Linked DNA regions of Homo sapiens: region 1 is linked to region 2. Evidence: promoter capture Hi-C in 16 types of primary human blood cells and fetal thymus (Javierre and others, 2016). All regions are on one chromosome and are shown on one strand. The core of a region is centred on a gene start or on the middle of the fragment in contact, and the rest is flanking DNA. Distances in the headings are between cores, read along the strand shown.

The links. The method cuts DNA at HindIII sites, captures the fragments that hold promoters and counts their contacts. A CHiCAGO score of 5 or more calls a contact.
Region 1: a contact is called between a fragment that was not itself captured here and the fragment with the promoter of ZC3H12B in region 2, in 1 of 17 cell types (fetal thymus). The highest score is 8.0, in fetal thymus.

What each region holds. Positions count from the first base shown.
Region 1 is chrX:63,748,771-63,755,296 of GRCh38, forward strand. All of the region lies in intron 1 of ARHGEF9 (Cdc42 guanine nucleotide exchange factor 9), which reads right to left. It overlaps LOC128031833, which reads right to left and starts at 5,894. Exons shown (of 1, transcript NM_001414729.1): 1 at 5,715-5,894. The coding sequence starts at 5,894. The coding sequence ends at 5,715. RefSeq lists an enhancer at 6,239-6,526 and a silencer at 6,393-6,526. The HindIII fragment of the contact is 644 bases long and covers 4,955-5,598 here.
Region 2 is chrX:65,032,324-65,039,209 of GRCh38, forward strand. ZC3H12B (zinc finger CCCH-type containing 12B) reads left to right here and starts at 2,503. Exons shown (of 10, transcript NM_001010888.4): 1 at 2,503-2,946. It also overlaps a transcript of ZC4H2 not described here. RefSeq lists silencers at 2,531-2,680, 2,741-2,970 and an enhancer at 3,071-3,130. The HindIII fragment of the contact is 4,649 bases long and covers 1-3,039 here.

The DNA of each region.
Region 1 (6,526 bases), core at 4,027-6,526, 1.3 Mb before region 2:
CAAGTGATCTGAATGTTCAGTGAGGGTTGAGAATCAGTAGAAGGCTGCATTATTAGACATTTCACAGACAAAACAAAGTTCTTTTGCACTTGATCTCAGTCAGGTGGCACCTAGAGTAGCATGAACAGTTCTAGGCAGCAGATTTTTAAAGAAATATAGAAAAATAAGTGTGCTTCAAAGAGAAGAACAATTGTATTAAAACTACAGTTCCTTGAAAACATTCTGTATTTTAGGCTTCAGCAATTCACACTGGCCTCTCACCTTGAAGATCCCAAATAGTGAGTTTTCATAAAACTAAACAGAACTCTTTGATGCATATTCAAGACAAAAAGGCATTTTATAGAATGAAAATTCTGAGCAAAAGTGCTATACAAATGAAAGTTATTAAAAATGTGAGTAGCTGAGGAAGCTAGTATGACTTCAGGGATGACTCCCAAATCTCCTTTCTTTCTTTTGTTTCCTTTTCTTTCTTTTTTTTTGGGACGGACTCTCGCTCTGTCACCCAGGCTGGAGTGCAGTGGCATGATCTCGGCTCACTGCATCCTCCGCCTCCTGGGTTCAAGTGACTCTCCTGCCTCAGCCTCCCAAGTAGCTGGACTACAGGCGTGTGCCACCACGCCCGGCTAATTTTTGTATTTTTAGTAGAGACAGGGTTTCACCATGTTGGCCAGGCTGGTCTCGAAATCCTGACCTCAGGTGATCCACCGGCCTCAGCCTCCCAAAGTGCTGGGATTACAGGCGTGAGCCACCACGTCAGGCCCTCCCTCCCTACATTCAACATCACACTAGTTAGGAATGACCAACTCTGACTCTCCTCTCTATTTGAAAGGCAGACCCACTCCCATCCCAACAATCTTGCTGACCTTTACTTTCCTCATCTGTAACACTGGGAATTACAATCATCTCTACCCACTTCACAAGGCTGATGTGATGCTCAAGTTAGAAAGGATGTGAAATTCCTTCATAAACGCTATAGGCCCGTGCACTGATAAGGAGTTATTAGTATTGTCATTACTGGACTGCTTCCTGAGCCTTCTCTCCCCTCTATGTTCTTCCCCTTCTAGTTTTTCCTCTTTGTACTTTCGTGCTAGAGCAAAGTACAATAAACTAAATACTCTATGGAGCTAGATCCACCTAAGACAGAAGGAGACACTCTGAGCAGATACTGGAGAAGCTAAACCTTCATCAAGGATTCTTGGAAAGCCAGAGACTCAGTTGGCCTAGAACAAGTTGCAGAGCTGGAAATAAGAGCTAGAGAGTCCAAGATTCCCCTCCTCCATCCCATTTCTTGGGGCAAAGCCACTGGAGCAAGATCCAGATGCCTTGTAGGAGGTCTTCTGAGGAGGCAGTTATTTTGGGAGAAAAGGCTCAATTCTTATATCCCTGCCCAGAGCAAGCACTCTGCAGGTCAAGGGACCAGAAACTGAGATGGCAGACAAAGGCTAAAGAGGAAGACATGCTTTGTTACCATCCTTCAAACCACCAGACTGTGCCCTCTGGTTGCTCTCAATCTGGGCCTTACCTCAAGGGCAGAAGAGCACCTCACCTACAGCCTTTTTGGGATCTTTCAGCTCCCTAGTAGCTGAATCACACACACACCGGTGGGTGAGAGTCTCTGAGCCAGGGTCCAAGCCCTGTTTACCAGCTCCATTATCAAACTTGCTCTTTCAACTTGTCCAGCCTCCCCCGTCAGAAACTACTACACCAAAACCACAGAAAGAAAAATTCCCAAATTCTATAAAGCTAGGCTGATCAGGATTCCCCAAGCCACAGACAAAATTGGGGCACACTGCACAAGCACACTGCAGGTTCTGACAGATGGAGGCTGTCTCAATGGAAGAAGAATGCTGTTCAGTTTGTTCCCACCAAGATATCACTTCACCCCCTCCCTGATGCAGCCAAAAGTTAGGGTGAAAAAAATTGTTTTTTCAGGACCGGCAGAGCTTCTGGCACTAAAGCTAGGCAGTAAAATGGCACAGTTAATCTTAAGGAGATGGGACTGACTAGAAAGGAATTTGAAACCAGGAGTTTTCTAATAAATAATCTCATAGCTGGACGAGGCTAGGCTCTACATGTCTGCTGTGGACATGTTTCCGAGGCATTTGCAGGAAATTGGGATTCTGTTCTTTCTTTGTTCCCTCCCCAAAAGCATCTCTCCAAGTCCCACTAGGCTCTAGTCCCCTTTTTCTAGAGTTATTGGTGCCTGGGCCTTTAAAGGGTGGGCTCTGGAGCTCAGTGGGTGCTCAGTGATACAGGGGTTGCTAGGATACCAGTAGAGGGCATTTTCTTTAATTCTTTGATGGGGATCCAGGAGCGAAAATCCCTAAGCTGGGATTTTGCCCCTCCTACATGGCAAAAGCTTATCCTCTACTCAAAGGGGCCAGAGAGGAGGGAAGGGAATGGAGGAGCTTTATTGGGAAAAGTTGGGACAAATCAGAGAGGAAAAGTCCTCTTCTCTTTTTTACTTCTCACCCATTTACAGTGGGGAGGTGGGAGGAGGAGGTGGTGTCAGGGGTGGGAAGAAAGGAAGAAGGAGAAAGATTAAGAGAGAAGGCAGAGGAGGAAGGAAAAAAGAAGACAAGTCAAAATGCATAGGGTTCCGCTTCTCTGGGCTGCATTTCTCATTTTCTCCCACTCTTTTCTCTTTTTGCTAGAGAAAAATATCCTCACAAGTCTGAAGCAGAAATGCCAAACCTTTAGGATTCACACAAGTAAAAAGTCACACTGCTACCTTTTGTTCTCTACTCTCAAATTCCCTTCTGGTTGCTAGATGGTGGCCTGCCATCTGGCTAGCAACATCCCTTTATTTGCCTGGAGACAATTTTAAAAGCGCTAACCCATTTCAACAGCTAAATTACTAATGGAAGGGCTCATTCAAGACACCTCCTTAGCCTGAGGGGTTTTAGGTGGTGAAAAGAGGAATGGCATGGGTGATACCCATCCATCCCAGCATTTGTGAAATCCTTATAGGTCCTAGCACAAGGAGGCTATTCAGAACTGTGGAACTCAATACTGTCTTTCTTCATTCCTACCACCACACCCCGCATCCACACTCAGGAGTGTGCTCCCCCCCACACACCCCCATGAACATACTGCCACACACCCTACACACACACATACATTCCCAGAGGCTTTCTGCCAAAGGTCTGTCAGGCTCACAGAGGAGAAGGCATTTCGTGACACTATTTAAGTCATAAACCTAGATCAAAGACTAGTCTCAGAGACCCCTTCTCCCCTTGGGGGAAAAAAAGTCAAAAAGCATTCCCTTATTGCTGTCCCAGTTTCCTTCCCAAATAACTAGGCAAAAAAAACCCCTTCGCTTAAACTTGTTATCCAGGCTGTAGTACCAGATATCCTTCCCCTCCTCCCATCACCCTTTGATTAACATTTTCTTTTCCTTTTCACTTGTCTTTCCAGCTCATCCCCCCCACCCCCCACAACTTCAAGTGTCTAGGGGTCATAAAATCATAAAATGCAAGAACTTGGAAGTCACCTAGTGGAGCCATCAAAAAATGCCAATGTTACTGGGAATCCCAAACCCACCGAGGAGGAAAAAAATTGTCCAAGGTCAAACAGCTGCTGAATGGAAAAAACAAAAAACAAAACAAAACAAAACAAAAAAACAGGTCTGCAGCTGCCCAGCATAGAGCCATTCCCCACTCTCCAACACTGTATCAAAACAAAGTGCCCAGAAAAGATATAAGCTTACTTTAAATAATACAATGAAGCTAAGGGGGGAAAAAAACTCACTAAATTATCTTTGCAAAGAAATAGGTTCTCAGTTCCATCCAGGGGGTCTCCACAAACGGACCAAAGAGTAATTAATAAGAACCAATGCCAGCAAACCTCCCAGATCATGTTTACACCATGGTACTAATCTCACAAAAACCTCAGCTTCTCACCCACACCAAGTCAAGGATAGCATGCTTTGAGGCCCAAAACACCCTCTGACGCCATTAAATAATACTCTCTGGGTCCTGTGGCCAAGACAATTTCAAAGGCCCCCTTCACAGCCCCTCTCCTTTCATAATCATTTCCAAAGAGACTGAACAACCGGACATGGAACTTGACAGCATAATGCCAGCAGATTTGCACATCAGACATGAACAGCCACCCACATGGGTGGAGGGGGAGCATGTGTGTAGATGTGTATGTGTCCTGATTCACTGCTATAATACATGAGCCATAAATGGCATTATTTCAAGCCAGGTAAGCAATGGAATGGGGAAAGCCTGCCTACATTAACAGGGGAGAAAGAAAATCAAAACGCAAAAAAACAAGTATTATACAGACTGGCATGAGACATTTTTTTTCCTGGCTCTGCCAAGAGCTTTCTCAGAGGAAACAGAAATATAAAAATAATAGCAATAGCAATAACAACAGAAACCACCACCACCATCTGATACAGACAAGCAGTCATATCTCAAACTGGAATGTTGCTTCCAGCTCATGTTTTCCATGCTCTCATCCCTTTCCTTCTAGACGTTTTTGGGTTTTGGTGGTCAAATTTAGCACCAAAATTTGATAACTCTTAATTTAGCACATTACAGACTTTCAGTTTGTTATGGGAATGTTTCAATTACAGAGACCTCTGATCTTAAAGTAACAAACGGGAGCAAACAATAGCATCACCACTTTCTCATCAGCCTTATCAAGTTACATTTAAAATGTAGTTCAAGAACATCATTGCAAACGAGATTATCCCAAAGGAGCCATATCCAAATACTATTATTCCCAAGGTGGATAAAGAGCTGTTTTTTCTTTCTTGTGGGGTTTTTTTTTTTTTTTGATGAGACAAACAAAATCCCCAAACTCAAATCCAGGGGTACAATCTTTGGGAAAGGGAGCCCAAATAGCTCCTGTCAAAGTCCTCTCTTGCCAGTTCAAAAAATCAGAGAATGCTTTCACATACTATTTCATGATTCCAAGGAAATTGACATTTTAAATATCTTAAAGCTTTAAGGTTCAAGAAGTGTTTTAAATGTGGCTTCTTTCAAAATTGAAAATTGTGAACCCTGGAGAGCAAATTGAGATTCAAAGGACACAGTCACCAACTGCCAGCACAACACACCCGTGTCACTTCCCAAATTCTTGCTTCTCCTTAGACACTAAAGAAGCATTTTCCCTAAATCCATTCCTTGCATCGATTATTTTCCCTCTAAATATCCACTGCAAAGACTGTCTTTCCTATGATGTCAAATATTCATCATGCTCTTCCACAAACCCTTTTCCCCTCAAACAAACCCAAATGCACTCCTGATGGCAAGAGAGAAATTTTGACTAAAATTCCCTGATGGAGTTTAAAGGTAGTCTTCAAGGAAATGAGTTAAGACACCACAGACAGCAAAGCCACTGTTTAAGGACGCAGAGCTTGCTCCATGAACGCCACATAGATTAAAAATGCACACACGCATGCACACTTAAATAGAAAGCATTTCTTCATCAACAATTTCACTCAAGCAATAGGCAACTATACGCGCAGGCATTCTTAAAAGACAAGACACGACAAAAGATTTAGGGAGAGATAATATACCAACGTCATACATATCACAGCGAGGCCATGTTGAAGCTCAAAACGTTTTCCCCCCTGAGTAAGAAAGCTTGTTCTTTCTCTCTCTTTCCCTGTCTCTGTCTGTGATTTTTTTTTTTTCTCGGTGGCTCTCGGGATGAAATCAAAGCGAGAGTTCGCGACAGCTCAGGTGGCTGGACTCCATTCAGCGCGTTCCCAGGAAAAACATGAGTATGACATTGACAAGCAGGAGGACTACAATCACGGCAAAAACGACTACAGTTTGCACATCCAGGGTCATGGTGCAATGCAGAACACTGTAGTGTTCCAGGTGGGGGGCCGGCAGATTGGGAGATGTCAGTCTCTGTTCTGTCAGACTGTCCATACAGCCACCATGCTAGAAAGGAGAGGAGGAAGTAGGGTGGTTAGAGAAGGGCTGGGTTTGGCGCCCGAGTTTAGTCGGGGGAGGGGAGGGGGATGGGGACGGGGTGCTTGGTTCCCCCCTTCTCAGGATTGGGCTGATCGTTTGTCCCTAGCTGAGAAATCTTAGCTTGCGCTGAAGTCGGCAGAGTCCAGCATTCTCTCTCGGGCGCCACGGGAAAGGCAAAATCCTAGCTTTCAAAGGGAAAGGCGGGGGGAACCTGTGAGTGGTTCTCCGGCGCCTGCTCAGTCTGTCCGGGCGTGCGTCCGTCCGCCTGCCTGGCTACCGGTCAGTCTCAGTCTCCCCTACTCCCTTTACTTCGCTCGTTTTCCTAAGCTTGCTCGCTCTCTTCGCTGGGCTCCCGGCTGCCAGACACTCGTTCGATCCCTGCCTTGCTGGCCCTATCCCTCTTCTCTCCCCATCCCCCGCTCAGCCCATAGGCTGCCTTTTTATTCACCGAGCGACTGCGGGCGCTTGCGTGAGGCGCGGCCAGAGCCACTGACATACCCGCCGACCAATAACAGATGCCGCAGTAGCACGTTCGCTGCCCAGGGGCGGGACTTGCGCTGGCGTGCTAGCCGCGACCGCCAATCAGA
Region 2 (6,886 bases), core at 1,253-3,752:
AAAATACAGGTTTTAGAAGATATAAGCAAATTTTGTAAAAAGTCTGTCCCTGTGAGTTACTGATGGTCATTAGAAAAGGCTGAACACTAGGGAATTGTTTTCCTTAGAACCTGAAAGGCATGTCTGTTCCATACGGAAGGAAAGGTATGAGCTGTGTGAGAACTCTATCCAAGCTCATTTCCACATTCATAATTGTAATATATATTCCCTATGTTATGGTCTTCCACATTGGTTCCAGCTTGTTGATGATCTCCAATCTGATACTTCTACTTAATTAGTTCTAGAGTGATTCACTCTTTTTCGCCTTTCCAATTGTTCTTCTCTTTCTTCAGTACTTTTTGGCTGGTCTGTATAAAGTTTCATTTTAGTTTGACAGTCCATTTGAGCTCTCCTCTAATGTTTCTTCTTTCTTTCCTTCCTTCCTTCCTTCCTTCCTTCCTTCCTTCCTTCCTTCCTTCTTTCTTTTTTTTGGGGGACGGAGTCTTGTTGTGTCGCCTAGATGGAGTGCAATGGTGCCATCTCGGCTCACTGCAACCTCCACCTCCTAGGTTCAAGTGATTCTACTGCCCCCGCCTCCCAAGTAGCTGGGATTACAGGCAAGTGCCACCACGCCTGGCTAATTTTTGTATTTTTAGTAGAGGAGGGATTTTGCCATGTTGGCCAGGCTGGTCTTGAACTCCTGACGTCAGGTGATCTGCCCACCTCGGCCTCCCAAAGTGTTGGGATTACAGGGGTGAGCCACCATGCCTGGCCCTCCACTAATGTTTCACTGGCACTTATTATAGGGCTTCTTAAAGTTCTTACACATGGCATAGCTATTTTTACACTTTCTAAAATGTTTAAATATTTTATTAAATAAACATCCAGCAGGGCACATTTTGTAAATATGTTTATACATTGTATTAAGTTTAATACAGAACCTCTAAACCTAATTTCAAAAAGATCAAGTAAATAAGCCCCTAGAATATCACACAAGTTTGTACGTAGCCATTGCCTACATGTCAATTCTCAGTGTCAATATTTTAAAATTAAAAAGTGTAGTTTTAGAAGAATCACTGGATATTTACATGTTAATTAACTGGAGGGTTTATGCAGATTTCTTACCCAGGTGAACCTTTGGGAAATATGTCTAAGCACTTTATAGATCTAGATGTGTCTCAGAAAAGGTAAAAACTGGTCTGTGGCTGGGTGCCTAAGGGGGTGTGGAAGGAGCTAGGGCTAGAAAAATAGAGGCAAGATCTTAGAGGACTTTGAATGTTAAGCTAGGGAATCTGTATTTTCTCCTTTATTATAGATAATGAATCTATTGAAAAATAACTCCAATTTTTACTAAGCGCTTACTCTGAGCCACAGTAAGTTATGTATGTTAAGTGCTTTACATTCACTTTTCCATTTAATCCTCATAACTACTCTATAGGTATTATAATTATCCCCATTTTACTGATAAGGAAACAGATTTAGACAGGTTAAGAATCTTAGCTCAGGCCGGGCACGGTGGCTTACGCCTGTAATCCCAGCTCTTCGGGAGGCGGAGGCGGGCGGATCACTTGAGGTCAGGAGTTCAAGACCAGCCTGGCCAACATGGTGAAACCCCGTCTCTACTAAAAATACAAAAATTAGCCAGGCATGGTGGCTTGCACCTGTAGTCCCAGCTACTTGGGAGGCTGAAGCAGGAGAATTTCTTGAACCCAGAAGTAAGAGATTGCAGTTAGCTGAGATGGCGCCACTGCACTCCAGCCTGGGCGACAGAGTAAGACTTTGTCAAAAAAAAAAAAAAAAAAAAATTCCTAGTTCAAGGAAACAGAGCTACTTGGTGGTGGAGCAGAAATTCAAACTTGGCTGTAATTTCAAAGCCCATTCTCTAAGCCAGAAGGAAGTGAGATTAGATTTTCATTTGATCACTGGTAGAAGTATGAGAACAAATTGCAGAAAGACAAGTCTAAAGGCAAAGAAACCAGAGAGTATGCTGTTGCAGTAGTCAAGAATTGTTAGGCCCTATTAAGGGAGGTGACCCTTAACCACCTGAGTTATGCAGACGAGTGACATAGTCAGAGAAGTTATTTAGAAAATTACCCTGGCAGCCCTTGTGAAGGATGAATTGGAGGAGCCAAGACAAATACGTAGGCAAATAAAATAAAAACAAATAAAAGACAAATAAAAGGCAGTGAGACAAGTAGTGAGGTTGTTGGGACTGTCACTCTTAACCGCAGAGGTGCCTGTCGAGGGGCTGGGAGACGGTCGTATCCCAAGTCCTCGGGCCTATCGAATTGCAGAGCATCCTGGACCTCTCCTCACCCACGCTTACCTTCACGTCGCTCCTTCTAGGCCTTAGGAAGTGGGGTTTTGAGCACTTTCTAGGTCGTAGGCCTGCTGGTCTGAGCTCCGACAGCGGCGCCAGCGGTGGCAGCAGTCGCCGACAGGGGTGGGGCGCATGCGCACAGTTGCTAGGCAACGGCGGCCGGGCGCCGCGGCGATAACCGCGCCGGGGCTGTGTGTGTAGGCAGAGGCGCCAGAGGAGGAGGAGCAGGAGGATGCAGCTGCGACCGCGGCCCCAAGAGGGAGCCGCCGCTGCTCTGTGGCCAGGGGGGCCCAGGGACTGGAATCAGGCCTGGGGGTCGCATCGCTGAGGGGACTGGTAACGGCGGTCCCTCCAGAGGCTCAGGCCTAGTACCCCAGGAGGGTCCGGGCCGCTGGGCGAGCGCCTTCCCCCCATCGCCTCCCCTCGTCCCTCCACGTCGATGGTGGTGAAGTTGGCGGCGCCACGGAGCGCAAGGCACCAAGCTGTCTCCCTTGCACCCAGCTCCTCTCTGGCCCCGGCTGTTGGACACCTGCGCCGCCGCCTTCTCTCGCCCGCCGAGCCCACCCCCTGCGGCGGGCGGGGGAGGGGCTCCCCCCTGCAGGGGCTGCGTCGAGCAGGGCGACGACGGGGACCATAGGAGAGTAGGGGTGAGTAGTGGCACCGCACTCGCTCGGTTCTAGTGCGCCTTTCCGGCCTCCGTGGCCCCAGGAGGCGAGCGAATCGCTGCTTTCTCCTGCAGAAGCTTCTGACGCCTCTCCCACATCTGCTCGCGGCTCTCTATTCCCTTCGAGGTAGTTTTCCTTCTCATAGCCACCACTTTTTGGTCTCAACCCTGGCGTCCAGGAATGCGGGGTGGGTGCTTAAGGCCTGGCTTTGCTTCTTAGATGCCATAGATGCTGATAATTCTACGTACAGTCACGCAGCCTGATTCCTGATTCGTGGACAGACTCTCCCAGTGCCGTGCTCGCCCCTTTCCCCTCGCTCTGGCTCTGGCTCTCGCTCTCTCAGGAGGCTCAGCCTGACCGCGGGCTTCTCAGGAGCCCATTCCCCGGGCTGCTGTCGCTCCATGCCTCAAGGTTTGAACACATAGCTGGAGTGGCCCCTTACTTTTCAGTGTTGTTGCTACTCGTGTGCTAAGACCTCCCGAAAGCCTTGTGCCTGGCTTCTGACTCCTGACATGTACGTTAGGAAGATAGTACTTATATTAAATAATAAAAATAATAAAACAAACACACACTCCATTTGACTTCTAAAGTGCTATCAAACTTGAGAAGTAGGCAGAATGGCTGATTCATAATAGGGGAAACTGGTTTTACAAACTACTTTTCATCCAGAATGGCATACTTCTTTTTTATTATAAATACGATGATGAAACCTAAAATATCCCCAATAAAAGCGAGGATGGGTTGTGATATATCTGTTCTTCCTGAGGTAGCCTGCAGTTGAAGATAGTCGGTTCCAGAAAACATTGGCATGAGGCACCGGAAGTGATATTCTGGACAAGGTGATTAGATGAGGTTCTAAAGTTGTGAGGTGCTTTTTTGAAAATTAGCAACATTATCTTTGATGAATGAGGTTGTTTTCTTAAAAGTAAGTGGTTGAAAAAACTTACAGTCCACAGATGACACCTATCAAAAGCATACTGAATTTAGATTAGTAATTTTGATTGTAAGATAGTTCTGTGAGCAGACAAAAGATGGGTTCTTTTCCCTCCCTATTGGTTTTTAAGCCATTTCAGGTTTCGTTTATCTGATAAGACGTGGCGAGAGAGAAGCGTAATAATGGAAAAGCTAAATTTTCTTTTTTTTGTAAATGCTTTTGAGCTAAAGATTTTTAAAAAGGATATATAGATGCCATTTATGATTAAATTTATTGGGTGAATCTGTCAAGACCGCAAACTTTGTTAGTTTGGGGTAAAATGCTTTGCTTTGGGAGCTTTCATGTTGTTTGAGGTTCTTTGGGGGTATAGTTTAAATTAAAGCACAATATAATTCTAGTACCACTGCAAAATAACCTCAGAGAGTATTGTTTGTTTTGTGCATTAGCAAGCTGACATGCTTCTAGTTGCTAGATTCCAAAGGTAATTTTTTTTTTGTTTTGGAAAAGCTTTTGATGAATTTAAGTCTGAATTATTTGAAATAATAGTGTATCATATGAATACTTGCTCTTCACCTTCACATACTTAGAGAACCCTGCAGTAATTTGAATCCAATCTAGTATTCCATTGAAGTGAGTATGACTATGAAGATGCCGCATACTCTTAAGAGCATTTACCTAGGGTGTCGTAATCACATTATAAAATAAAATTGATGGCTTATTTTGCAAATGCTATCAAAGCACTTGTTCAGTGAACTCTGGAATGAAGTTTTTTTTTTTTTTTAAAGTGACTTTCAACAAGTTTTTATTTTCTAGCTTCTAATGAATGCCTACTACTATACCAGGTATTGTGGAGAATAGAACAGAAACAGCAATTTACCAGTTGGGTAAATTGCTTACCCAATGGTAAATTACCGATGGGTAAATTGCTTAGCCATTGGAAAAAGGAAAATACATATATGAGACACCATGGTCAACAATTGGAACAGAGTCATATTGAATAAGGACTGAAAGAGTTAAGAGTAAAGGGAGAATACTGTAGGCTGGATTTTTCTGAGAAAGCTTTGTAGAGAAAGTCATACTTGATTTGGCTCTTAATAGAAGTATAAGCTTTCTTAGAAGGTGGAAGAGTTCAGCATAGCATGAGCTAAGGCACTTGATTTTCTAATCCTTTTGCATATTTTCTCCTAGGTAAACCTAAAGGAGAAGAGGACTGTCAGTGGCAATTAACTTCTTTGTAGTGGGCATAATTTTCTATGATAAACTACATACTAAATTAACAAATTAAATATAATTTCACAGATATACATGCTATAGAAATCAGGCTTTAAAATAATCATCCTATTTCCTGAGGCAAGTGAGAATGTTTTCTAAGCAGATATAGGTAGAGTGTTAAGTTCACATGTTTTTGTAACCTGTACATTTTTTTTTACTGTCTATTAAGAGACAGTTATATTCTAAGTGTTTCATACAACACTGGTCTGATAGTACATTAGATTATTAATATGCTCCAAAGACTATTTCTTGATAAAATAAATTAGGGAAATTTTATAAGCAACATTCATTTTGATTCATTAGTATATGATAACTTAGTTTTTAGTACTACATTTAGTACTGCTATTGCTACCATTTTCTGAAAACAAAGGGAGGGGTATGTCAGAGTCCCACAAATTCATATCTGTCAAAGTTCTAATATCATGTTATTAATGTATATATTAATAATTGACAACATCAATGTTTAAACTGCAATTACAAACCTCTGCAAAGCTTATTTTGGTACATTTCTAACAACCTTCCGCTATATTGAAAATTAGTCAGATGACTAATTGTCTCCTAGGTTTTAGTCAGCCATTGTAAGTTGACATTTACACAGAAAAATAACGAGGTATGGAGTTATTCCATCCGTAGAGAGGTATGTCTCCTAACAGAAATTCACATATTAGAATTCCAAATATAAAGAATTCACAGATTTACTCTGAGGAACAATATACTCAAACTTGAAATTTTTGAGGCTTTATACACCTTCTGTACCTTTTTTTTGGTATCTTTTGCTGCCAGCAGTAGTCTTCTTTGATTAAAGTTAACTTTAATTCACAGTAGCTAATAGTTTCTAGGCTCAACAAATATAATTGTTATTTTGAACATCCTCTGCTTAGCACATTAGCTATTAAATAAACAAGTTATTAGAGAACAGAATGGCTTATCTGGACACAGTCAGCAAATAGCTATGATTATTGCTGGAAATTAACCAGTTAACAGATAGCAAAATATATGGAGAAGGCATTGGAGTAAATCATTTTTGCTAAGTAACTATTGTACATTTCTGGTCTTATGACAGTATCAAAGGGATGATCTTTGGAAAGAGGAGGGAAACTGCCAAGAAAATTAAAATTACCTCGTATGTCAAATTGTAAGTACTGTGGCGATTTAAGGCAGGTACACATGTTAGTTAAATTGCTAAACCTCAGTGGTGGCAGCATGTAAAATAGGGTAAAGAACTGTCAGTCTCTGTTAAGTAACATAGGGTCATTCTCAATATTTTTACCTAATGACTGAGTCTGGAGGTAGGACAGTATTACATTGAGTACCACTGATGCATCTATAAGTTATAATTTTCCTTAAATACGTAGTTTTAAAAGAATTACCATATGCTAAACTATGATCTTTATTATATCATTGGACTAAAAATTTTCCCAGCTGAGCACAGATCTCTCAATTGTATGATGGAAGTTTATGAGATAAATGTCTTTTTCCCAGCAATTCTTTTTAAGAGCAAGTTTTCCTGGAGCATAGCATTTTTTACTAAGTGAAAGATACCTATAGCCAATTCAATGTAGGAAAAAAAAAAGTGGAGACTACCATTCCTTCTTAAAGTGTGGTATCCACAAAGAAAATAAATCAAACACCTTCATATATAAGTTGTAAACTAATATCCACAGGAGCTGTCTCATACACAGTTATTCTCTCAGTATCATATCTTATGAATTGTTA